Regions from separate parts of the Homo sapiens genome. Here region 1 is linked to region 2. Evidence: promoter capture Hi-C in 16 types of primary human blood cells and fetal thymus (Javierre and others, 2016). All regions are on one chromosome and are shown on one strand. Each heading gives the region's core, a stretch centred on a gene start or on the middle of the fragment in contact. The rest is flanking DNA. Distances are from core to core; before and after follow the strand shown. Region 1 overlaps THSD7A (thrombospondin type 1 domain containing 7A). Region 2 holds the start of THSD7A (thrombospondin type 1 domain containing 7A).

The links. The method cuts DNA at HindIII sites, captures the fragments that hold promoters and counts their contacts. A CHiCAGO score of 5 or more calls a contact.
Region 1: a fragment that was not itself captured here is called in contact with the fragment with the promoter of THSD7A in region 2 in 1 of 17 cell types (endothelial precursors); the score reaches 8.3 in endothelial precursors.

Annotation. Positions count from the first base shown.
Region 1 is chr7:11,573,853-11,580,568 of GRCh38, forward strand. The region is part of intron 4 of THSD7A (thrombospondin type 1 domain containing 7A); the gene reads right to left. Among named protein-coding and RNA genes, the nearest start is that of THSD7A, 250 kb to the right of the region's middle. The HindIII fragment of the contact is 224 bases long and covers 1,989-2,212 here.
Region 2 is chr7:11,827,400-11,834,305 of GRCh38, forward strand. THSD7A (thrombospondin type 1 domain containing 7A) reads right to left here and starts at 4,799. Exons shown (of 28, transcript NM_015204.3): 1 at 4,358-4,799. The coding sequence starts at 4,547. RefSeq lists a silencer at 2,544-2,838 and enhancers at 4,396-4,936, 4,937-5,476. The HindIII fragment of the contact is 6,451 bases long and covers 2,183-6,906 here.

The DNA.
Region 1 (6,716 bases), core at 851-3,350, 260 kb before region 2:
GAACACATTATGTGTCACCTATTCTGTTAATATCTTTCCCCTAAGTAGTTTTAGGAAATTTATATGAACACATCTATTCAATCAATTCAAGATCATGGAGCTCCTACTATTCAGACACGTGTACTCTGATGTTATAAAAACATGTATTTTGTCATTTTAAGAGCATATGAAGGAAAAACAAGCATACCTGAGTGTTATGATTAGAGACGTCACGTAGAAAGATCAATGCAAATTTGTTTCTCAGGGGAAAATTTTGGGCTAGATATATAAATCTCGGAATCCAAACAAAACCTGGTGATCTAAATAACATTATTACCCAGTTATTCTCTTTCACATAACCCTGTTTTAATTCTCTGCATAGTGCTTATTGCTCTTTGATATTTTCTTATTTATTTTTTGGTATATAATTTTTCTCCTTCCATTAAAGTGTAAACTTTGTGACAGCAGGAATAGTGTTTGTGCTGTTCATTTCTCTATTTTCAGCATTTAGAATAATGCCTAAGACATAGAAGACACTCAGTAAACATTGGTTCAATGAATAAATGTATGGATACCTTCCTGTCATAGAAAAGGGAAACAAAAACTTTTTTTTTTTTTTTTGAGACAGAGTTTCGCTCTGTCGCCCAGGCTGGAGTGCAGTGGCACGATCTCGGCTCACTGCAAGCTCCACCTCCCGGGTTCACGCCATTCTGCCGCCTCAGCCTCCCGAGTAGCTGGGACTACAGGCGCCCACCACCACGCCCGGCTAATTTTTTTTTTTTTTTTAGTAGAGATGGGATTTCACCATGTTAGCCAGGATGGTCTCGATCTCCTGACCTCGTGATCCGCCCACCTCGGCCTCCCAAAGTGCTGGGATTACAGGCGTGAGCCACCGCGCCCGGCCAACAAAAACATTATCATACATGTGAAGTGCAGTTTTATTGTCATTAAATATGAGTAACCTTAATAGACCATTAGCTATAAGACTGAATCACTATTTAAAAGAGAGGCACATTTTCTAAAACCAATAATCGTTTAGAGGTGAGATAGCTTTTCTCTAGCATAAAACTGGCTTACAAGTAGTAACCCTATACTGTATAGCACAGTGGTTAAGATCACTGGTTCTGGAGCCAGACTGATTCACAATCCTGATTATGACGTTTACTAGCTATATTCCTTAAGAAAATTATTTAAGCTCTTTGTACGTCCATATTATATAATAATAGTGCTTACCTCATAGGATTATAGTGAGGGTCTCATAAGTAAATAAATGTAAAACACTTAGAATAGTGTCTCACATATAGTAATCATCTATCATCCTCGTCATCCTCTGCATCATTATTATTACTACTTCAAATTAACGCATTTTGATCTATAGACAGAAACTTGGTAATTATTTTTTTCTTGAAGGAAATACTAGAAAGCAAAATTGCTTTTTTAAAGAGATGGCGTTATTGTTAACACTGGGTCTTTCTTACATCTGCTTCAGATTTTTGCTATGGGTTACAAGCCAGCAAACAGATTTAAGGACTTTTGATTTTCCTTTATCAGTGCCTAGATAAACTTTTTCTTTGCCCTGCATCTAGTTAGGCCTGGATCCCCTGTAGAAGTGGGATAATATTTTATTCAAGATTATGTCCTGTCAAGCCTTTCAATTTCCATTTGAGGATGCTTATCCTATCCTCACCGCAATGATGGTTGGAAATTGTGTCTCTGCATTGAACTGCACCTAAGCAGTAAGCAGAAGAGCTGTACTCCAGATACTTGTGTCAGGGGATATAACGGAACTCTCTGCCTCTATCAAAGCTCAGAGGAGGATTGCCTGAGGGAATAGCTGTACCTCCATTCATTTAGTACATCCATTTCGAAGTCTATCCTTGGGTTATCCAGCTTAGTGAGACCTATAAATCTGTACCATATCATATCAACCGCCACTTATTACCCTTTACTGAATTACACTTTGATATTTCTACTAGTGGCCTATGTATAAGAAAATTGCTTAAAGAAAAAGCTTCCTTATAAAATTCATTATGGTGTTTATTGTAAAGATGTTAATAAGTTGTAATTCAACACAGTTACAGTGTCTTTTTTATGAAGGCCCACTGGTGAATTTTCTTTCTGGCTCTAGAACCAGAAATCATGGTGCTTCTCATTTACAACTGGTTTCTGTTGCCTAATGGGCACTGCAAATTTCACGGTTAATGCAGTGTTCCTTTCTACATTGGCTATTACAAGCTTAGAGCCAGAAGTTGTGGCCTACTTCAAGAAATTCACAGAATCTTATGATACACATTTTGTGCATCATCCTTGTTATATTCATTATTGGTTTGATATCCTCTTTCTACTAGCATTTTTCCTTTGCCCCACACTCCTCATCCATTTATTCTTAAAATTACTTTATCTCCCTTTATTGTCGGTATTTATAGACAATAAAGTGGGACATAATATTCAAAATCACATCATTGAATGCAAGCAATTTCTTTTCTAACTGCGCATAAACAATGCTTGATGAATTCCAGTCACTCTGAAGCCATCAATTTGAGTTATTTTCCCATAAAGAATATCTACTATGGGGAAATCTACATATTTTTACAGAAGACAATCATTGCCCTATCTAGAGGACACTGCACACAGCACGAATGCATATTGTTCACATGGAAAGAGTCACTGCGATTCATAGCTAGCCGGTCTGGATTTGATTCTGATAATGTCAAGTGTGGGATAGACAGTAATTCATACCAGGTGACTTGATATAATACATCAAAGGTACCTTTTCAGTTAAACTGTATGAAATTGCCACTAATTGACAGATCTTGACCTACAAAAATAGCAATATCATATGGTTCAACATAATGCTGGTTCAAATAACTGTGAACAAGACTCCATATTGACCTTATAGAATCATGTCACAGAATGAACTTAATTGCGTTGGCTCCTATAAAGGGCTTACATTATACTTTTCCCTTCAATTTTCTTTTATAAGAAGTAGATTTCTAGGCCATTTTTGTTTATTTTTGCAACAGAAACATTATCAGCTAATAGGATGCACTTCTGATGATTTTGATAAACTTGTAGACAGCTATTATACCCAGGGCATTTATTCTGAAGCAAATGCATAGGGGAAGCGAGTATGCTTGCAATGAGTTTACACTTTAGAGTCAAAAACAAGGCATTGAGTCCATGTTTTGCCACTGACTGTTTCAGTATGTCTGAGAAAATTATTCTCTAATTATCAGGTTAGTTATGTATTAATGGGAAAACACTATCTACCGCAATATGTTGGGGACTTTTCTTACCCCCTTGTTATAGATTTGTAGAAGGCTTTGATAAATAAGTCAATAGCTTTCCTAGTTAAAAACATAACTGTATTTTCACAGTACTTCTGGGATTCTTAATGAACTAGAAACTTAATTGATCCAAGACTTTCTAAACAGATCTAGCTGAGCACATATAAAACAATAGAAGTGTTTTCTAAACTCTATTTTATTTACTTTTTATTTTTTTGAGACAGAGTCTGCTCTGTCACCCAGGCTGGAGTGCAGTGGTGTGATCTTGGCTCATTGCAACCTCTGCCTCCCAGGTTCAAGCAATTCTTGTGCCTCAGTCTCCTGAGTATCTGGGACTACAGGCATGTGCCACCACACCCAGCTAATTTTTGTATTTTTAGTAGAGATGGATTTTCGCCATGTTGACCAGACTGATCTTGAACTCCTGGCTTCAAGTGATCTGCCCGCCTCAGCCTCCCAAAGGCCTGGGGTTACAGGTGTGAGCCACCATGGCTGGCCTCTAAACCCTATGTTTTTATGTATCTAGTTGCTATAATTATTATTTTAACAACAAGGGCTAAGTTTTCCCAGGCATAAAGCTCCCTATCTGGGCATTTTAGATCCCCAGAAATCCTGTGGGATATAAGGGGCAGATGGAACAGCGTGGCATTCCAAGTTTGAGCAATGGTGAAAGTGCTGTTTTAGAGTAACCTAACAATCCGAGGGTTACTACAAGCATCTTTGTCAGAATTCTTCAGCAATGGACTACTACTTAAAATTCGCAAGGCTTCTGAATCACAAAGGAAAGGAAGCTGTAATTATTCTGACTACCATAACTATAGAAGTAAAATTAACTGTATTTATTCTTATTCTAAAATAATACAATGAAAGCTTTAGAAAAGGTCTATTTTTTTCCCAAGAAAGGGACAATTTTGTATATAATGTTAGCCCATGGCAGGATTTTAACACATACTGTAAAGAGACAGTATTATTTGCTCTCCATTATGTTTCTCAACTAGCAAGCTAGTATACAATTAGCCTTTATTGCATGCTAAGGATTTGGAGCGAAACTGTTATTTAAAAAATTCCCTTTTCTCAATTCAACCAGAAAAGTAAACACGTAAACAAAAGCAATTAATATTCATTTGGCATATAATAAATGCAAGGCCTTATGCTAGGAAATGATTTACATATGTTACATATGTCATCTCATTAAGCCTTTAAAAAGGAAAGAAAAGCATAAGAGATATAGAATGAATTAGTGCAAAAGATAGGTTAATTCAAAATGAAACCTTATAAATTAAATGTCCAGGAAGTCAACATCCTCTGACTGAAGGCATTTCTCTGTCTTTTTAAAAGATATTTCCAAAGAATACAATTGGTAAATGTACCCAGACCTCTGCTAAGAATGATAGGTTGTACTAAAGAAGTTTAGGGAAGGATAAAACACTATGCCCTCTCTCAGAAGCTTAAAATCTTGGGAAGTTGGCATGAATAGAATATAATCATATGAAATCAAATGGCAAATCAAGAAATATAGCAGAAAAGGGCTATACAGGCTTTGGATAAAGGAAGATGATTAAGGTCTTGTAATTTGAAAAATATTCTTTAAAAGAGGAGATATTTGGATAATTGGGACAATGGTTGAAGGCATTACAAGGCAGAAAATAGAGGAAAAGCAAAAGAAAAGGAACTGAAATAGCACTGGTTTTGCTTCAATGGATAGGTGATGCTTAGCTTAGAGAGAGTTCTTGTGCATCCACAAATACAAAACAGCTTCCGACACTGAGGACATGTAACTTTGTCAAATACAGAAAATGTAAAATTGTGAAGAGGTACAACCAGTGCATATAATTACAAGAATATAGATTACTACTTTGAGTTCTTGAATTGCATTCAATGTGCATTTTTTTCTTAAATTAATTTCCCCAATAAGAGGCAATTTTAGTGGATTTCAAACTTAGAATATGAGCTGTATCCTTGTATTTTGAGCATATTTTTGTGTGCAATAAATGATGAGACCTTTCCAAGATGAATCTGTTGTTACAGTTTTCTTTTCCCATTGCTATTCTCCTTGGTTTATTTCCCTTTTTATTGCCCATTGCTTTTAGAAGGAATAAATATTAATGAGTTCTACAATGTAGTTTGCACTCCTCTGTTAACACTGGAGAGAGTAGCTACTCCCTATTGAGCAATCATCAGCAAGGCAGGGAACAACCAGCCCTAGCCACAAACCATTTCTTTTACATCTTTAGATAGCAGGAGTGTGCCTCTGAAAAAATGCTACTCATTCACCAGTGCACATCCCTGAGTGCTCATTTCAAAATTCCTCCTGGCGCTATCATTCATCTACAACGAACTCGATGAAATAAGTGCTTAAGGGTTACAAAAAGCACGGATACTATAGTCCCTTGATAGTGTCAGGTTAGATGACATTTTATCCACCATCTTTCTTTCATTAATGGAAGGTCTGTATTAACTGCTATGTCTTCTTTCCATCTCAGGTTACAGGTATGAAGTAAGATGAAACAGTATCTATCCTTCCCTAATTTCCCAGCTTAAATACTAGCAAAGTATTGTGAGTTTCTAAAGATTTAGAGCTCAGGGATCTAAAACTGGGGGGTCAAAGAATGTAGAAAAGACTAATATCATTACTGAAAGGTCCAGTTCACTTTGGAAAATATATAGTGACTTTTTCTAGTCATTCCATTCTTCCCAGTCGTACCTCTAGAACTATGGGGAAAACAAGGCTTTTCAAGAAACAATGCATGTGTTTCTGTTTCTCATCTTAAAGTAGTCATTCTCACTGGCTGTAATAGAGGACAAAAATCTATGTTAGAATTAGGGGTAGATTTATTGAGAAGCCCATGAAGCTTAAGGTTTGGGCCCTTCTAAGGCCCTGGCAGAGATGTTAGTGAGTGATTTTGAATTTGGAATTTTGAAATCTGGCTGTTTTTTTTAAAATAACATTTAGGGTTCTCTAAATCGCATAAGCTTTGGGTCCCAAAAGACTCTCATTAGCTGCATGGTAAAATCAACTCTTGATTATAATCAATGACAATCCTTATAAAAAACAGATTCCTGCCTCATTCAGGACCTACAGAATTACAGCCCCAGTGGGTAATATCTAGGAATGTCTGCATTTTCTTAAAGCATGCAGGTGATTCTTAAACTATATTTTGAGGATATATGCTTTAGAGAAAAAAAATTCACCTGAGGAATAAGGGTACAGGTTCGTTATTAAGGACGGACCATGGTGTAGTGCACTCTCAGGGATTAGACAGCCCCAAACTGACAGATCCATACAAGTCACCCTATGTCAGCCTTGTGAAGGGTCAGTCTAAACTCCAAGTACACAAAGCTATAACTTCAAGGCTTTTATCAGGCTATAAACTTCCTGATGACAAGTATCAAGTATACTTTTTTAAAAAATCACCAGAAAATACTATGCAGCCATTAAAAGAATGAAAT
Region 2 (6,906 bases), core at 3,549-6,048:
TACTTGATATTTTCTAAAATATTTTAGAATTCCTTTCCTAGCCTTTCTAAACTTTTAAAATACTTTTTGCCACAATCTCCTTTATAAAATACCGTCTTCATCTAGTGTATCTTGTCATTTGCCTTGTACCTTTTCTGGCCATACTTTCTTAGACTGTTTCTCTAGGTCTTCTCCCACTGTGGCCCTTTATATCCCAATATTCTCTGTGAAATATCCTGGCTCTTCTTTTCAATATTTTCTTTGCTTTAATGATCCCTCCCACTCCCATGGCTTGAAATATACATTTATTGAGTTCCATGCTTACATCTTCAGCCTAACTCCTTCTCCTAAACTGAGTCACCCATTCACTAATTTTCCCATGAGATATATTGGTCTAAATATGTCATTGCTACCTCAAGCTCAGTATATCTGAATTAAATTGATATTCTTCTTCACAACACTAAGCAATCTGTTCTTCCTTTTTTCATACCCTGTACCTCCTTTACTGACTACAGGCATGATGAAAACCTTGATGGCATTTTCCTACTTTCCCTGGAAGGCACTGTGTCTTCTGCACCCTAAATCTAAGCTAACATTGCTTCAGTGTGACCTCAAGCCCTCTTCTACTCACTCTTCACTATAACTTCTATTGTCGGAGTTCTGTTTCCCTTTGCCTCTCAGTCAACGACTCACGTCACTGGCCTTCCAGCTTCTAAACTCATCTCTCTTCATTCTAGACAAACAAAATATCACTCTTCTGCTCAAAGTTTACAGTGGCTACCACCTACTTATAAGTTAAAGTCCAATATCTTACCATTGTTTGAAAGTTTATTGATAATCTGGTCCTAACTCACTGGATTGGCATGAAATCTTTTCATTGCTATCCCACATCCTGGGCTTGAGGTGCTGTGTACTACTGGGACTTTCAAGATCTAGGAAAGCTGCTGTGCCTTTTCACTTTTATTTTTTTCCTTCTCTCTGCTTAGAATGGCCTTCTACTCCTTCCTCAGTCAAAATCCACCTCATCCTTCAAGACCCAGATCATATATTAAATTATCTTTGCGACCCTTCACACCTCCTTTATCAGCCAAATAACTTCTTTGTTCTTATAATGTTCTGTTCATGTGTATGGTATGCCATGTTGTAATTGTGTACTTATAGTGTTGTTTAATTGTGAGTATCTCCTAAAGCCTGTAATCAGTTGAATAAGAATTTTTTTAAAAAAGTTAATTGTGAGCTTCTCAATGGCAGGGATGGCAGTATCCCATTCAGCTTTTACCACAGTGGTTACATATTTTAGCTCCTCAAAAACTCTTTGTTGTGAGTTGACTTAATAAAGCACATAGATAGATAGATAGATAGATATTTAACATTACATATAATGTATAAGTAATAAGTATTATTCATGTATATATTATATGTATACACACATGTGTACAGTTGGCTCTTGAACAACATGATTTGATTTGGGCAGTTCAACTTACATGCATTTTCTTCCACCTCTGCCACTGCTCAAACAACAAAACCAACCCCTTATCTATCTTCCTCTTCCTCCTCAGCCTATTCAATGTGAAGACGATGAAGATAAAGACCTTTATGATGATCCAGTTCCATTTAATGAATAGTAAATATATTGTCTCTTCCTCGTGATTTTCCAAATGTCATTTCCTTGTCTCTAGCTTACTTTATTGTAACAATATAGTATATAATACATATATAAAATATGTATTAATTGACTGTTCATGTTATCTGTAAGGCTTCTGATCAATAGTTGGCTATTAGTAGTTAAGTTTTGGGGAAGTCAAAAGTTATACATAAATTTTCCACTGTGCATGTAGGTCAGGACCCCTAATCTGTGCATTGTTCAAGGGTCAACTTTATATACCCTTATTTGTTGTATATATGTATTTATGTGTGTATTTATAATATATGTATCTGACATATGCATTCATATATATGAAGCCCTTTAGGGGTTAAAAAGGCCCTTAGATATCATTTTATCTATTTAATGAGTATTACAAAATAGGAAGCCAAGAACCAAAGTCATTAATGACTTTACCAAAGTTCTACAGCATGTTAGTAACATACACAGTTTGAGTTCCTGTCCCAGATCTTCATCCAGTGTAACAACTTTCACTACATCATTTTAATTCAATAATCTCACCATTAATATGATTCTCTATAATCCTCTGTACCAAGACCAAGCTTACCCCATTGGAACAGATATTTTGGAGTATGTCACCTCTTTTCTCTTCCAATTCCCTTCTTGCCTCTTTATTTTCATCAAGTGATACACACATAGTGATTCTGTAACTTCTAAATTTTCATTTATGGTATATCTTTTTTCTTTAAATATTCTCTAGTTCTTTTGAGAACTACGTTCAACTCCTTTACAGATATATTAAAGTCTCCTTTCCCTTTGGTAAAAAAAAAAAAATAAAGAAGTCATTATTTTGCTTTCCAATTGAATGAACTATTTTTTTTTTTTACCAAACCAAGGATCACCAGTCAAGAAATATCTTTAACATCCTCATCACACTAGCTTACATTTGCATACAGCTTTGAAGTTTACCAATCACTTTCTCATAACTCATGTGATTTTCACACACTGCAGATAGGCAGAAGAAGGTGTCATCACATTTACATGCAGTTGAGAAAACTAAGGGTCAAAATTTAAGTGAACTGCCAAAATTCCTACAGCTAGCAAGAGCTAGGACTGGCACTGGAATCAAGGTCTCCATATCATTGTTTCTGAGAGCTTCCCACTATTTTAAACTGTTTATTGGCTTGTGTTCCTACCATGACATTTATGATGACATATATTGACACCTCAGATGCTGTACAGTGAATGTTGGCTGGGCTCTTTTCCATCTGAATTATTGCTTGGCTCTTGTTACTTTGCTAGTATAAATTTCAACTAGGCAACTACTATTTCATCCTACACTGACTTACCTAAGAAGCTCTCCCCAAGCATCCATATGATACCATTTAATGGTAAATTATAATTTGATTAATGTTTGTCATTATGAATGTGCTTTTAACAAGTAAAACCCTAGCTTACGCTAAATTAGAGATCTTCAAATCTTCGTTTCAAATTGAAGTAAATTAATTTTATTTCATTTGAATTCATTACTCAACTGATCTTCAAACTTAAGGTGTTAGCAAGAATAATCTTGCTTTTTAAAATGTGTATATGTTTCATGTAATCTTCTAAGACAAATTGTGTACTTTGACTTTAAATAAATTTCTGTTTAATCTCCTCACTAAATTTCTGGATAGCTGCAACTTCTTTAAAAATTCCAGATATCGATAGTGATGCAATTGTAGAGTAGACTGAGCTGTCTCTTCAGTAGTGGTGCAGAGATGGGCTGAAGCAGGAAAAGACACTCACTCCCTGAAACCTGTTTGCAACCCCATGACGAATACATACTTTCCCTTTCAACTACAACATTCTCTTAATGTTTGGCATGACCAAGTTATTCTTAAATTACCCCCTAGCTCTAAGCAACAGGAATAATCTTTTCCCATTTTATTCCTATGAACATGTGAAGTTTCAGGTCCCCTAAGGAATTCTCAATGTTTTTTTAATGCAGAGAGAAAGCGAACCCGCAGAAAAGGGGTTGGTAATTCCTCACTCCGTATTGTTTTCCTGCCTGTCACGGCCCCCGCCAGAAACTCCAAGCATTTTGCCAATGGGTAATGATGGGCAGTTAGTAGCTGCTTTTGTTGGGTGGTTGAAAAACAAAGCAAAACAATTCTCAAGGAAGGAAGAGAAAGTTTGAACCCAGACATCCTAAAAGTTGTACACTTTAAAAATCCTCCGACTCGCTAGTTAATAATTGAGTTTTCAGTCTTTCCCTGAAGGCTCACTGGAGCCCCATTTGCCTTTAATTGTTGGAACCGCCCTCACTTGGCTTGTTTCTGAGGTGTCCCACATATCACAAAGCTAAAGTTAACAAATTCAACTCTATATCCACAAATGTCATGACAGTGAGCATATTGCTTTGCCTAAAGAATAAAGACTGAGACTAAACTCTTTGCTTGTTCTTTGCTAGAAATCTGTTTGAGAAACTCCTAGTAGAATGAAAATCCAGGGGTTAAAAATAATGCACTTCATCATGGAAGTGCGCGTTGCCCTCATTACAGAGCTGCGAGAGAAATATTCCAGCTACTCACTGTTGCCTCTTAGTTGTTATGCTTTTCTTTCCTAATTGCATCGGACATGACCTATTTGCTTCCTAAGAAATCATACTTTTTACCTTAGGATACCAGCATAACCAAGCCATCCAAAAGCACCGGGGTCCCTACAGAAGCCCACCAGCTCCTTAATGTGGCCCCAGATGTGAAGATGGGGAAAGGGTAACTCCGTCCCACTTACCAGTCTTCCACAGATAGAGGGTGGGCGCCTCCGCCTCGCCCTGCGCCGCAGCCCTGCCGGCGCCCGGGCGTAGCAGCAGCAGCAGGAGCAGCGGCAGCGGCAGCGGCAGCGGCAGCAGCTGCAGGACGCCCCGGCGCGGCCCCGCAGCGCCCCGGCTCCCGGACGCCCAGCGCCTGGCTTGCAGCCCCATGCCGCCTGCAGCCACTCCAGGGTCCAGAGCCGTAGCACGCTCGGCAGGGAATTTTTCTCCGCTCTTGGAACGTCTTTTCAAAGAGTACAGAAAGCAAAGCTCTTTCCTGCTATTGTTCGCTTCAGATGAGAAGGAGGGAGAGCGCGTCTAACACCAGGGAACAATAGCGTCCGCGGTGGTGGCCGTGGCCGCTGCCGCCGCCGCCGCCGCCTCTGGCGGGGATGCTGCTGCCGCTGCCATTCCTCGCAGAATGGCAGGTCCCGGCGGCTCCGGAGGCAACTGTCCTCAGGGGGCCCCAGCTGACTGAGCAGGTCTGCTAGGTCTGGGAGGCAGCGCAGCCCCCGCCAGCTGGAGGGGGAGGAGGGGGGCGTGAGCCCAAAGGAGCAGAGGGGGCTGGAGGCAGAGGGAGGCGAGAGCGCGAGGGCGAGAAAGGGGGCGAGCAAAGGGGAGAGGGGCCAGCCAGGCGACACCCACCTCCGACATACCCGCCTAAAGAACTCCGGTGCACATGGTGCGATGAAATATGTTTGGAAGGATGCACCAATAAAAAGAATCATCACCCGGCAGATTTCAGAATGACAAATAACAGGCATTGATATTCACTGTCATCCAAGGAGTCAAATGCTAGATCTAGTGGCATGCTATTCTTAGTACGTATTTACACAAAGCATCAGTGTTTATTATCTATTTTTAAGCCATGGCTTCTGAATTACTTTGTGTGGGGAGCAGTATTTGAGATCAGGTGTGAAAACACGAGAGCAGAAATGTTGACTTGTCAAAATGCACTTAAACCCTTCTTTAAATGTTGTTTTTAACTTAATCTATTATCAATAAAAATATGAGCAATATTGATGCTCTGTGACAAATTAAATTGTCTTTTAATAGCCTTTAAAACTGAATTAGTGTTAATGAGTATTTGCAATGCTACCTAATTACATAAATACAATTGTACAAAAAAAAAACCCTTAAAATTAAAATTATATTTCAGGTATAGAGTTCTGTCCCTTCATCTACTTCTTTCCCTCAAAAATATGCTACTTCTAAGTATTCAGATAGTTGTGAGTCAAACTGAGTCAGTAATGCTGTCTGGATATCTTGGAATTAGTAAATTCTTCATTTAAAATTTCCCTGACACCGATTTTTCTTAACTCTTACTGTAGCAAAATGCCTGTCGCAATCTAAATAAGGAACCACATGTGTTTGCATCTTTTGTCCTTTGTGTTTTCACTTTCTTCTACCAGTAGTAATAGAAGAATGTGTGTGAAGTCGGATAATGCTTTCCCCTTTCTCCTTCTCCCTTTAGCTAATAATAATATATTTTATTATTAATTCATTTCACAGTAAAGCTAAAATAGTAGGCATTTAACCATTAAAAATTCAGCAAACGGAAAGCCAAAGAAAACTACTATCCCATCAGCAATTTTCAGCCAAATAAAATAAAATTTTAAAAGCAGGAAAACTACTTTTTATGAATTTACTCCAACATAGCTACCCTAGAGTTTAAGATGAGGAAGCTACTCTTTCTGAAAGAGGAAACCTTCCATAAGGCTCCCTTGGGACCCTTGTCATTTTGCAAAGCCTTCCAGACACAGCCCCTCTGCATGCATTAGATTAAAAGCGGGTTTGATCAAATAATTCCCAGGTCCTGCCTGTTTAAGTATTCTGACATCAGAGGAAATTAGCTACGTTGAAGGTTGCAAATTTGGTCTTTGTTTACTTTCCGCTCTGTTAGGCCTCTAAGAAGGAATTAAAAGCTCAGAGAGCCCGAGCGCTGTGAGTCTGTGATTAGGAGAGATAAGCTAGTGTGGCTTACTATTTCTTCACTCGTGAAAAACAGGCAACAATCAAAAGATTATAGGTTGATAAGGAATAAAAAGGAAGCCTGATCTTAACTAATGTATGGTTCCCTGAAGGATCACTTCTTTTGACAGTTACACCACAGAAGGAAATGGGACCTGCTATTGCTTCCTGGGTTCTGTCGTTTCAGGAAAATTTCCATGTCCACTCCACAAGGAATCATTTTCCCATCCTTTCTGCTTGTATTTCTCAGCTACTGTTAGTGCCCTAAACCTTGAAATCCTCTAACTCTGGCACAGGAAGTATTTCAAACTGGACATACTCTGCTAACAGCAGCCATTCTACGCATTCGTGGGAAGCGCCAATCAATTCACCAAGTGGGAATTCATTATATAACAGAGGACAGAGAGTCTGAGGAATTAAGTTAATGTGCAAGGTCATTTACCTAGCCCTTCAAAAAGCCATCCGACACTATACTTAATAGCTTATTGTCAAAAGAAATTTTAAGATTCTGACCTTTATATTTACCCATGGTGGTATAATAATAACTCAACTTGTCAAG